3 separate regions of the Homo sapiens genome follow, and all the other regions are linked to region 1. The links are contacts of gene promoters, found by promoter capture Hi-C in human tissues and cell types (Jung and others, 2019). All regions are on one chromosome and are shown on one strand. Each heading gives the region's core, a stretch centred on a gene start or on the middle of the fragment in contact. The rest is flanking DNA. Distances are from core to core; before and after follow the strand shown. Region 1 holds the start of PLA2G3 (phospholipase A2 group III). Region 2 overlaps EIF4ENIF1 (eukaryotic translation initiation factor 4E nuclear import factor 1). Region 3 overlaps OSBP2 (oxysterol binding protein 2).

Region 1 (4,075 bases), core at 400-2,899:
GCTATGCCCCCCTGGTAGGAAGAGGGCAGAGACCTGGTTCTCACCCCAGCCCTGACACAAACGCCATGAGGGTCCTCAGACCAGTCACTCTCCCTTCTGTGGGACTCTCAGAGTTTCAAAGCTGGAAAAGAGAAGCCAAGCTGCAGCCTCTGTTGGGCAACTCTAAATGCCAGGTAGCCCACCCATAAATACATGGAAAGGTCTTCCTCAGGGGAATTGGAGTCTGCCTCCAGAGTTCCCAAGCCCACGCCCCAAATAAAACTCCAAAATTATGAATGTGTGTATGATGGAATGGCAAACAGGCAGGGTGCAACCTTTCTCACTGGCACAAGGAGGTGTCGCCAGGATGCCAACCTACTCTGACTCAGGTGCCAAGCCCTCCCCCAACCCTGCACACAAACGCACAGACATCTGTACTGATAGTGCAAGAAATTCATCTATGTTTATTACCATCTAAAAAATAGCACTCTTTACTAAGCATTTCCCACATGCCTGGCACTTCCCACATCCAGGTTCACAGCCAGCCCTGAAAGGGAGGTATCACCTTCATTTTACAGGTGAGGAAATAAGTCCAGAGAGGGGAAGTGACTTGCTCAGCTTGTATGTGCTGAGTTGGGATTTGAACCCAGGCCTTTCGTCTCAGCATCCATTCCACTGGGCACCCCGTGCCCACAAAGCCTCCTCCTGGGTAATGGCTTTTTGGCTCAGTTGACCCTGGATCCTCCCCCAGCCTGCCCAGTCCCTCGGATGGCATTTAATGAGGACTCCCAGGTTTGAATAAGACTTTCCCCAACCGTGACCTCATTTAAGCACCCCATGATGAGATTCGTGATTGCCCCCACTTTACAGATAAGGAAATTGAGGTTCACCATGGTCAAGTCACTCCCCCAGGGACACACAGCCTAGGAGAGTAAGGGCTGGGGCTGAAGAAACCTTGCTTCCCCGATCGGACCCCCCAGCCCACACACCCCTCATGGCTCACCCAGCTCCGAGGAGTTCCCAGCAGAATCTCCAACTCCACACCACAGTGTGCCAGGCATGGTCCATCCTCTCTTCTCTCGCTGGTGCCCTCCACCAGGGACTCCACTCTGCCCTGCTGCTCGCTTCTTCCTGGCCCCTGCTGGACTCTCCTCAAGCGCTCGGCATGCCTCCCACTGACTCTGAAGAGTGGCCAGTGCTCTCTGCAGCTCGGGTCCGGGGGTGTGGATGAAGGAGCCCCAGGCAGTCTCATGAGCACAGAGAGCACCGTAGGCTGCGGTGAGCTCCGGCTCATCCTCCCAGCTACATGACTGCAGCCTCCTATGCGCATCCCAGCGGGCATGGATCAGGGCCAGTCCCTGAGCATCCTTGGCCAGGAAGCTCAGGTACCCCAGTGGGTTGCCAGGGACGGCCTTGGTCAAGTGGCAGGAGGTCCTGTACCAGCGGAGGGCAGGGGAGCCCCCCAGGGCCACCCCCAGGAAGCCCAGCATCCCAAACAGCCCTGCCTGAACCCCCATTCTGCACTGGCCCAGTCCAGTCAGACAAAGCCCCTGGGATGCCTGCCCTTGGTGGCCCCACCAGGCGGCAGCTGAGCAGTGGAACGGAAGCGGAGCCCAGCAGGCCCGGTGCGGCGGGACCAATGAATGGAGCTGCGGGAGGAGGAGGAAAGAGGCTGGAGTATGGGGTGATCTTGGGCTTGTAACCGAATCCACCAGCCGGGCAGGACGCTGATTGGCTGAGGAGTGCACTTGCCAGGGCCCACGCCCCCATTCTGCCTGCCTTCTCAGCACCATCCAGTCACCTGCTGCCAGCCCTGCCTAGATTGGGACTATGGGAGCCAAAGCCCTAAGCTGTGGGATGGGGACCAGGCTGGGGCTTTCACATCTCCTTGAAGGGAAGGAAAAGGGTTCAGGAGCTTGGAGGAGTCCCTTAGAACCCACCCTTCTCACCCTTACCACAGCGGTGGCTGCCACATCCACCTCCATCAGGCTGGCAGGGGGCCATGGGCCTCTGCCAGGGCTGGGTGAAGGAAGGGCTGGGGCTCTGAAGCTACCACCCTGGGAGTTCCCAAGGCTTCTGGGAAAGGGAGTGCCACCTGGGGTGCTCCCCTGCCAAGTCCTGGTTCTTAGAAAGGCTCTCGGCATACTCAGGGGACAGAGCCCCAGGGCTCCCCGCTTCCTAGGACTCCAAGCATGGGCCTGGCCTTGCAGCAACCCTCCTGGTCTGATAACTGGGGGAGACGCAGCGGGAACAGGCCTTGAGAGCCACACAGGGCAGGGCTGATGCTCTGGATTTGAAAGAACTATGGTCCCTAGAGTGGCAGAGAGTGGCCCAGGGTGTATGTCTGTGGCCACCTCCATCCCTGGCCACCTGGGGGGACACAGCAGGCATCATGTGTGCCTCATGAGACAGGAATCTCTCCATCAGGAAGGGGCTATACCCAGGTATTGTTCCTGGATCCCAAAGCCCAGCTTCCAACCATCTAGTGAGGCCAGGGTGCTTACACCCATAGTGCAGATGAAGAAACTGAGGCTCAGTGAGGGTGGGAAAACCTCAGGTGACAGGCTCCAGCTGGGGAGGGCTTAGAGGATGGGAATGCAGCGCTTGGGGATCTGGATGGGAGTCAGGGCTGGCCAGGACAGTGACTTGTCTGTCTTCCATCTGCCCATTAGCCTGCTGCTTCTCCAGCCTCCCCCTGCCCCAGGCTCCATCTGAGTCTCTTCCAGGGGATGAGCCCCAGTGAGGTAAAGCCAGGGGCAGAGCTGGGGAAGGAGAGCTCACTGTGTGGCAGAGGGGGAAGGGGGCTGCAGGGTGGGCAGGTCCATCTCTGTAGCTTCAGAACCAGCCTGGGCCTGTGGCTCAAAGCATCATAGCTGGGAACAATGAAGAGAAGGGAAAGAGGGTAGGGCTAGTCCAGGGACCAAGCGCCTTCTTGCCAGAGGTTGAGAAAGGGGGTGTGGAATACAGCGAGTGGTGGCAGAGGAGGTAGACCTGGGGTCCCCAAGGGCAAGGATGTAGCTGAACAAAGGTGAGTCCTTCTGTGAAGAGTTGTGATGTTTGAAAAATCATCATGCTGAGACTTCCTCCCATCATAGGAACTGCCACCCACCTCTGCCCCCTTTTCCACATTGCTGAGCCCTTCCCTGCCCATCACCTGGGGAGGCTGGGAGGTAGGATACGAGGAGCCAAGCTTTCGAGGTCAGACAGGTCCAGCTTAGGTTTCCACACAGACCCTAGGCTTGGAAATCTTAACTTCTCTGAGTCTTAGTTTCCTCATCTGTATCATGGGCATAATCACAGTAGTCACTCCACAGGATGTTGGGTAAGATTCCCAGCACAGTTCCTGGCACCCAAAACACCATCACTAAAGCCTCAGGATACCCCTGGCCAGGAAGCAGTTTACTCAGGAGAAAGCAAGTCCCAAGATTTTGGGGCCACAGCATCTGTGATATCTGAGAGCTCGGGCTAGATGGCAACTGTGGGAACAGTGGCCAGGACACTACCTGCCTGGGTCACTCCAGGCTTGTCCCTGTCCCTTTCTGGGACTCAGTTTCCCCCACTGTACAGTGAGAAGTACAGTGGAGTTGAACTTTGAGGTCTTTTCCAGTCTGGGTCTCAAAGAACATCAGGCTGGGGCTTGCCCAGGCCTCGAGGGAGGGTGTCACTGAGCTTTCTGTCCAGACTCCACCCAAAAACAAGTCAGTCAGCCACAAGACAGGCTCAGAGTCCTGCCTTCCACCAGGGTGTCCCTCAGAGGCCCTGGAGCAGAGGGGCCAAACCAGCGAGACAGGAAGGCCTGGGTCCTGCAGACGGAAGAGGGTCTGAGGCTTTTCTCTGGCCCTCCACCTGTCTGGGTGAGGCAGGGTGCATAGTGGGTGCCAGTGGGGAGTAGGGGTGGGGGTTCATGAGAGAAGGAGGGGCAGGGCCTCTCCTTCTTCCCTGTGTGATCGTCTATCCCTGTCTCTCACCATCCTTCCCCATACACAAACCCCCAAACCCCGTGTGCCCTGCCCTTTCCCATTCATGTTTTCCCAGACATGACTTCACCTGAAGCTCACTACCCCTGCCTCTCCCTAGGGAGACAGGCAGGGTGGGG
Region 2 (4,075 bases), core at 743-3,242, 320 kb after region 1:
AGCAGGCTGTGTTCATGCCTGTTCTCAAAGTAACCTGGTATAAAAAAAGTGAATATCAAGTCCCCAAGCACATGAACTACCAAAGAATCTAGAAGACAAACCCAGGTCGGGTGTGGTGGCTCACGCCTGTAATCCCAGCACTTTGGGAGGCCGAGGCAGGCCGATCACCTAAGGTTGGGAGCTTGAGAGACCAGCCTGACTAACATGGAGAAACCCCGTCTCTACTAAAAATATAAAAAGTTAGCCGGGTATGGTGGTGCGTGCCTATAATCCCAGATACTGGGCTGAGGCAGCAGTGAGTCAAGATCGTGCCATTGCACTCCAGCCTGGGCAACAAGAGCGAAACTCCGTCTCAATTTAAAAAAAAAAAAAAAAAAAAAAGACAAACCCTGAAACGCTTGTCCTTGAAGTCCCTCTCTCGGTCTCTGTCTCTCAAGTCCCGCAGGTCCTTATCGCTAAGACGGTGATCCTTCTCAAAGGTCCGGGCAGAGATTATCCTCCCACTGCCAATCCTACGTCCACCAAGCAGACGAAGCCCATCACTATCTTTCTCTAATGGACTTCCTGAGCGCCGGGAGCTAACAGCGGCTGTCACGTGGCAGCCCCCTCCAAAGCTCCGTCTCTGAGGGCTGAGAACAACATCTAAGTCATCTTCTTTCACACGCTCTCGTGGATCTGGAAGGACGTGGGAAAGACAAAGTTAAACAAACCAACAAGGGTGTTTTCTTCTTTTTTAGATAGTATGTCCATGACTGATGGGAGGAAGGGGATGGTTGGAAGAGAGTCACCACTAAAATTGGGCTTATCAGCAGATTCAGGGTAACATGTACATTATGTATTTAAATAAGGCTGAGACATTGGCCTTCCTCTTTGCAGCAATAGAAGTACGTCACGATAAATAATTTTCCATGATTAGTCTTTGCAGTGCCTTTATTTTGACCAAATCCTTATCTAAGAATTATTAGCAAATGTTTTGTCAACTAATAAACTACAGCAGGCGTATTTGAAAAAATAACTGCTTAAAAAGTTAAAGTGTCTCTTCAACAAAATGGTGTTGAACGGTTAGATATCCACAGACAAAGAAATGAACTTAAATCTATATTTGGGGCCGGGCATGGTGGCTCACGCCTATAATCCAGTACTTTGGGACGTCAAGGCAGGTGGATCACGAGGTTAGGAGTTCAAGACCAGCCTGGCCAAGATGGTGAAACCCCGTCTCTACTAAAACTACAAAAATTAGCCAGGCATTGTGGCAGGTGCCTGTAATCCCAGTTACTTGGGAGGCTGAGGCAGGAGAATCGCTTGAACCTGGAGGCAGAGGTTGCAGTAGCAGAAGTCACCCCGCTACACTGTAGCCTGGGCAAAAGACTAAGATTCAGTCTCAAAAAAAAAAAAAAAAAAAAAAAAATATATATATATATATATATATATATAAACAGATATATACAAAAATTAATTCAAAATGGATCACAGATCTAAATGTAAAACCTAAAACTAAAAATTTCTAGAACAAAATATAGGAGGAAATCCTTGTGGCACTGGGTTAGGCAAAGTTTTCTTAGGCATGACACCAAAAGCATGATCCATTTAAAAAACACTGATAGACTGGGCTTGATCAAAATTTAAAACTTCTACTCTTTGAAAGACACTGTTTAGAGAATGCAAAGACAAGCCACAGACTGAGACAAAATATTTCAAAGCATTTTTCTGATAAAGGACTTAAATTCAGAACACATAAAATCTCTTAATAAACCAACCCAGTGGCTCACGCCTGTAATCCCAGCACTTTGGGAGGCTGAGGTAGGTGGATCACCTGAGGTTAGGAGTTCGAGACTAGCCTGACCAACATGGTGAAACCTCGTCTCTACTAAAAATACAAAATTAGCCAGGCGTGGTGGTAGGCACCTGTAATCCCAGCTACTTGGGAGGCTGAGGCAGGAGAATCGCTTAAACCTGGGAAGTGGAGGTTGCAGTGAGCTGAGACTGCACCACTGCACTGTAGCCTGGGCACCAAGAGCCAGACTCTGTCTCAAAAAAAAAAAAAAAAAACCAACACAATTGAAAAATAGACAAATGGTTTGAACAGACACTTCACCAAAGAGGTTATGTGGAAGGCAAATAAGCATATGAAAAGATACTCAACATAATTAGTCATTAGGGAAATGCAAATTAAACCATGTGATACTACTACACGCCTATTACAATGGCTAAAATTTAAATGACCATTCCAAGTGCAGATGAGGATGTTGGAGCAAGTGCAACTCTCATACACCACTGGTGGAAACGTAAAATGGTACAACTACTTTGGAAAACAGTTTGGCAATTTCCCAGAAGGTTAAACATACATCTGCTATACAACCCAGCCATTTTAATCCTAGGTTTTTACCCAAGAGAAAAGAAAGCTTATGTCCAGAGACTTGTACATGAATGTTCATTGCAGCTTTGGTTATTTAACAGTCAAAAACTGGAAACAACCCAAATGTACATCAACAGATAAACGGATCAACTGCTAAATCCATACAATGGAATACTATTAAGCAATGAAAATAAACTAGACACTCAACAACGTGGATAAATCGTAACTATTCTTAATGAAAAAAGCTATACAAGGAGTATATACTATAGTAACTCCATTTATATAAAATCCTAGGAAATGTAAACTAATCTATAGAAACAGAAAGCAGATACAGAAAGCAGATCAGTCCGGACACTATGGCTCATGCCTGTAATCCCAACACTTTGGGAGGCCAAGACAGGTGGATCACCTGAGGTTGGGAGTTCAACACCAGCCTGGCCAACATAGGGAAACCTTGTCTCTACTAAAAATACAAAAATTGGGGCCAGGCACGGTGACTCATGCCTGTGATCCCAGCACTTTGGGAGGCTGAGGTGGGTGGATCACTTGAGGTCAGGAGTTTAAGACCAGCCTGGCCAACATGGTGAAACCCTGTCTCTACTAAAAATACAAAAATTAGCCAGGCATGGTGGCGCACGCCTATAATCCCAGCTACTTGGGAGGCTGAGGCGCGACAATCGCTTGAACCCGGGAGGCAGAGGTTGCAGTGAGCCGAGATCGCGCCACTGCACTCCAGCCTGGGTGACAGAGCAAGACTCTGTCTCGGTGGGGGGAAAAAAAAATTAGCTGGGCACGGTGGAACGTGTATGTGTAATCCCAGCTACTCAGGAAGCTGAGGCAAGACAATCGCTTTAACCTGGGAGGCAGAGGTTGCAGTAAGCAGAGACCACGCCACTGTACTCCAGCCTAGGCAACAGAGGGAGACTCTGTCTCAAAAAAACAACAAAAAAAAACAAAGCAAATCAGCGCTTGCTTGGGAAGGGGGAAGTGTTGTGGGGGGGGCAGCTAAAGGGAGGGACACATAGGAATACTAGGGAACTTTTGGGGGTGATAAAAATGCTTATGTTGATTTTGGTAACGGTTTCACAGGTATATACACATGTCAAGACATCAAATGGTATACTTTTTGTGCAGGCTATATGTAAATTCTATCTCAATAAATTTATTGGTGTAGGAAGAACAAACATGTCACCATACAAAAAATGTCTTCCTAGAAAAACCAGGAAACTGAAGATTAGTCCATGTGAGAAAAATCTGCTTTAATTCTGTTATCACAAACAGCTCCTAGAATGTTCTGTTGTGTACTTTTACAGAATTTCTGTGCAGTCTGTTTTTTCCAAACACAGGATACAATATGGAGAGTTTTCTATGAGTCAGTACGTCATGAACATTATTTGCCAATAAACACATCTGCAACATGGTTTTACAGGACAATGCAATGTAACATTCCCATATATGGATACACCGAAGTTTACGCGACCCATTTCTACTGTTGGATATTTAGGTTCCTTCTCAGTTTTCATCATTTTAATAAAGTCTCTGCATATCTTTAATGATTCTGCTAGAATAAATTCTTTGAGAGACATTACTGTACTGAGTGTACTGACAGACTGTGTAGAAGGGTCTTATAGCTTAAACTAGAGCCGGGCTATCTTTTTCGTTTAGTTCCAAGTTTTTATGATGAGTCGTCCTCTCATCTCAAAAAAAGTTCTTGCAACA
Region 3 (4,075 bases), core at 535-3,034, 320 kb before region 1:
AGGGCGCAGTAATCTCTTTAAGGGACCTTGCAGAGCATGGTTCTCTGAGTGTGGCCTCTGAGGTCAGCCAGACCAGGCCAGTTCCAAGCCTGGTGACCCTGGGCAAGTCACTTGACCTCAGAGCCTTAGTCTCCTCATCTGTAAAAGAGGGTGTTGGTGAAATTTATCAAACAAGGCTTTTCTGTGAGAATGAAATGAGGAAATGCAGGTCAAGCATGCAGCCTGGTGTTCTCAACACTCTATCGCTAGGACCATTTCCATCACTGTGGTGCTCTTCATTTTGCAGCCAGAAAACCAAGGCCCAGAATGGCTAAATGCTTTCTATCCCCCTGCCCGGCCAGTGAATCTAACTCAATTGTTAAGGATTAATTCTCCAGGTGAAAGAAGTACTCAGTTGCCTCAAAGGCCTGGAAGGGAATTACTGACCCAGCACCACCTTCCCTGGGTCTATTAGATGTTAAAAGAGGAGCTTTGATGTGTATTTGAAAAAGCTTTAAATTGGTGAAAATGGATTCCTTTTCAATAAATTACATTTGATCAATTCCTTTGCTTGAGCTCCTGCAAGGTGGCACAGTTAGGTAGGGCTCTGTTGGAGATGAAGCAGTGGCTAAAACTCAGTCCCAGGGCCCAGAGTCTGTAGTCCAGTGGGAAAGATGAGACATACATAAGGCAGAGCGAAGTGGGAGCCTCAGCAGAGGAGTGGGGCAGGCCCAAGTGTGGAGTTGAAGACCTCTGAGTGGGAGAGTGTCAGCGTCTGACATACAGTGTACAGGATCTCTCAGCTGTTATATTGTGCAGAGACTGTGGGGACCAGAGTGGGAGCAGAGAGACTTGCAGGGAGATTGTGTAAGAGTCCACAGGCAAGACGAGGGCGTAGCAGGCCCCAGAAACAACATGCAGGTGGTGAGAGTCAAGGGATCCTGGCTGTATTCTACGGGTACAGCCATCATGATGTGCTGACCAACTGGATGTGGATCTAAGAGACGGAGAAGTCACAGACGACTCCAGAGTTTCTGACCCGAATGATGTCACTAGCTGAGGTGGGGAGGGTTGAGGAAGGGTGTGGTACAAATGGCGGTGGATGGGGGATGGGGGTGCGGGGATAGGGAAGCTCAGATTTGGACAGTTGGGTTTCTGACGCCCACCACACATCCCACGGAGATTTCGGTGGGCTGCCTGGCGGAGGCGGTGGGCGCTTCTTTACTGGAAATTTTTGTAAGTGAAACTTGCTGTATTTACCTTGTTGAGTGTTTCTGTTAACATCTGAAACTCTGGGGAAAACTAGGATTCTTTAACCTTGTAGACCTAAAAGACACAGAGGCAGTTAATTTCACTTAACACGAATTTATTAGAAACAGCTCCTTTAGAAATCAGCGTTCTCTGATCTGTAATAAACCTTGTAATTAACTTTGCTAACTTACTGGTTATGCCTGTGGGCAGCTGGACAGTGGAGTTGTGTTCAAAGGCCTGGGCAAATACCTTGTGACCAGATGCCTGCAGGCCTGTGGCAGCAGAACTAAGGGAGCCCAGCTCCCCGGGGCCCTGCCTGTTGCCTTCTTCCTGCATGGTGGCCAGGTGTCTGCAGGTGGCCAGACACAGGTGCACCAGCCACGGCAGCGGGGTCAGAAGATGAGAGGGTCTCAGAGGTGACCCCGATTTCCTGGAATCACCGTCAGGCCCCTGGCCATCCCCATTTCCCGCGTGCCCCTTAGCTCTCAAGGGCATCTTTGCCCTTTGAGATAAAGCAACGCCGAGCTTGTTGCTGCAGGGGACAGCACTTTCGCTCGGATTTTCGCATTAAAATGTGACATTGAAGTGGGGAGCCTGCATGGGCGTCCGCGGGGTCGCACGGACCAGCAGGCGACGCGCGGGACGAGGCCGCGCTCCTGGGGCGGGAGGAAGTGGTAGGCAGCACCGCCGCTCAGGCTGGGCTCGGCTCCCGCGGCGCGGACGGGGTTAACGCGCTCATGTACCGGGTGGCGGGCGGCAGTGGTGCATTGTGGTAACGCGGCGCCGGGACCCACGAGTGTCCGCCGCCTCCGCCGGGCGGCCCACCGAGCTGTGCACGCGTCCGTGCAAGCCCCCGGGACCCGGCGCCATGTAGCGCCCCGCCGATTGGAGGCTGCCCCGCCGCGGGAAATGAAGGGACGCGGCTGCTGGGACACGGCCTCCGTGCGCTCCTTCTGCAGCTCCGGCTGCCTGAATAAATTTAAGAAGGGTTAGTGCTTGCCGGGCTTCCACCCGGAGGGAGGCCAGGCTCCCCGCGCATGCACGCCCGGTGCCTGGCTTTGCTGCGTGATCGATCCACGGGAGCCTCTGATGTCACTCCCTCGCGGCGTGGGGAGCGCGGGGAGCCTCGGGGAACCCCTGTCCCCGCACCCCGCCGGCGTGCGCTCCCGGCTTGCTTCACGCGCGGGGCATTTTGGAGAGGGGGCTGCGGCTAGAGACTTGTCCGTCTAATTAACCTATGCAAAAAGAAAATGAAATATAATCTATATCTTTATGAAAAGAAGGGGGAAGCGGTGGTCGGTGTTTTATCCACCCATCTACCTCTTCTTCCCCAGAGTCGGCCTGGGGTCCGCATGCCCCTGGAGCCCCTGTAGAGTCGCTGATTTGCCCACAAGGGCCTCGTCCTGGGGCCACCAGTGGTGTCGGCTTTGCTCAGTGTGTGATTCTCCGAGTGGCCGCCTGGGTTTGAGCAACCCTCCCTCCCCGTCCCGTGGTGATCCTGAATGACTGCCCTGGCCTGTGCAGGCTCACAAGCCCAAGGGCCCTTCCTAGCGTGGGGGAAAACCTTAGCTGTCTTAAATGGAAGACTTGCAAACTCTGTAAGCTCTTGCCTGCAATTCCTGATGCTTGAAACCTTCTTTATTGGAAATTTTGCGTGAGTGAAATTTGCTGTATTTACCTTGATGAGTGTTTCTGTTAACATCTGAAACTCGGAAAAATTAGGATTCTTTAACCTTGTGGACTTAAAAGACACAGAGGCGGTTAATTTCACCTAACACGAATTTATTAGAAACAGCTCCTTTAGAAATCAGCACTCTCTGATCTGTAATAAACCTTGTAATTAACTTTGCCTGCTTACTGGTTATGCTAATGGCTTCATAAGACCTTGGTCCATTCCAGAGGACTTCGAAGTTGCAGGCTGCAAGCCTCAGCCCAGGAATCCCATCCAACCACGTGAGTTCTCTTGAAACACCATATGAGGTCTTAGGGTGTGTGCAGTTGTAAATGAAATGTATTTCATTAGGAGTTGATACTACACCTCCATCTTAAGAGTCCTTTAAGGAAACTTGCAAGTAAATTTCGTCCAAAGTGTGTGTTCTGGTTTTAGAGGATTGGTCTTAGTTTCCAGTTTTTATTTTGGATATAGCGTCATTTCTAAAGTAGTTATGTTCTTTACGCGAAATTTAAATGATGTTTCTGTCATCGGTTTGGATGGATTTATTCCGAGGGAGAATTTTGGAGTTAGTTTTAAAAAGAAAAGACATTGTTTTTTTTCTCTTGGCTCATCTAATGATTTTCTTGGTTGCCCTTGTCTGGAAGTGTTAACAAGGAGCATTGGACCCGATGTCTGCTAGCACTTGGCTTGGTTGTGGAGGAATGTCACCTTTGTAGGGAACCTCAGGTGTGACCAGAGCAGCTGTATCTTGAGAGCAGTGACGGGGTGACCTTTTTGACGGCCAGACCCCTCTAGGCCAGCCAGCCTTCCATCTTATCCTTCTGTTGGTGTCCTGCCCTGCACAGCAAGCCTGGGGAGGAGGCGGCTCAGGAAGTTGTGTGTTGGTGGGCACTGTGCTTAGAACAGGGCCTGGAGCAGAGCTTGCTGCACCGGAGGGAGGAGGCCCAGCGGCGAGTGCAGCAGTCAAGAGCAGCCAGAACTCAGCTACCATGTCGGAGACCCTAGGGGGGAATACGGGAGTTTGTCCCTCAGGTGTTCTGTGTGAAAATGGGCCTGGGAAGGCCAGAAGGGTGTTTTCAAGAGAAGCTGGAAATCTCAGTTTTTATAAGATTTCCACATACAAACACATACATAGCTAGGGGTTGCGGGAAGCCTAGTTAGGGGTCAGCT

The links. The method cuts DNA at HindIII sites, captures the fragments that hold promoters and counts their contacts. A contact is called where the count stands out against the background at its distance.
Region 2: a contact is called between a fragment that was not itself captured here and the fragment with the promoter of PLA2G3 in region 1, in 1 of the 25 tissues and cell types used here (lymphoblastoid cells).
Region 3: a contact is called between a fragment that was not itself captured here and the fragment with the promoter of PLA2G3 in region 1, in 2 of the 25 tissues and cell types used here (IMR-90 fibroblasts and lymphoblastoid cells).

Annotation. Positions count from the first base shown.
Region 1 is chr22:31,138,859-31,142,933 of GRCh38, forward strand. It overlaps PLA2G3 (phospholipase A2 group III), which reads right to left and starts at 1,650. Exons shown (of 7, transcript NM_015715.5): 1 at 983-1,650. The coding sequence starts at 1,496. RefSeq lists enhancers at 1,154-1,712, 1,713-2,272. The HindIII fragment of the contact is 19,816 bases long and covers 1-4,075 here.
Region 2 is chr22:31,463,293-31,467,367 of GRCh38, forward strand. It overlaps EIF4ENIF1 (eukaryotic translation initiation factor 4E nuclear import factor 1), which reads right to left. Exons shown (of 19, transcript NM_019843.4): 5 at 389-675. Among named protein-coding and RNA genes, the nearest start is that of EIF4ENIF1, 25 kb to the right of the region's middle. The HindIII fragment of the contact is 3,841 bases long and covers 73-3,913 here.
Region 3 is chr22:30,820,492-30,824,566 of GRCh38, forward strand. All of the region lies in intron 2 of OSBP2 (oxysterol binding protein 2), which reads left to right. Among named protein-coding and RNA genes, the nearest start is that of MIR3200, 91 kb to the left of the region's middle. RefSeq lists enhancers at 1,125-2,032, 2,438-3,002. The HindIII fragment of the contact is 7,647 bases long and covers 1-4,075 here.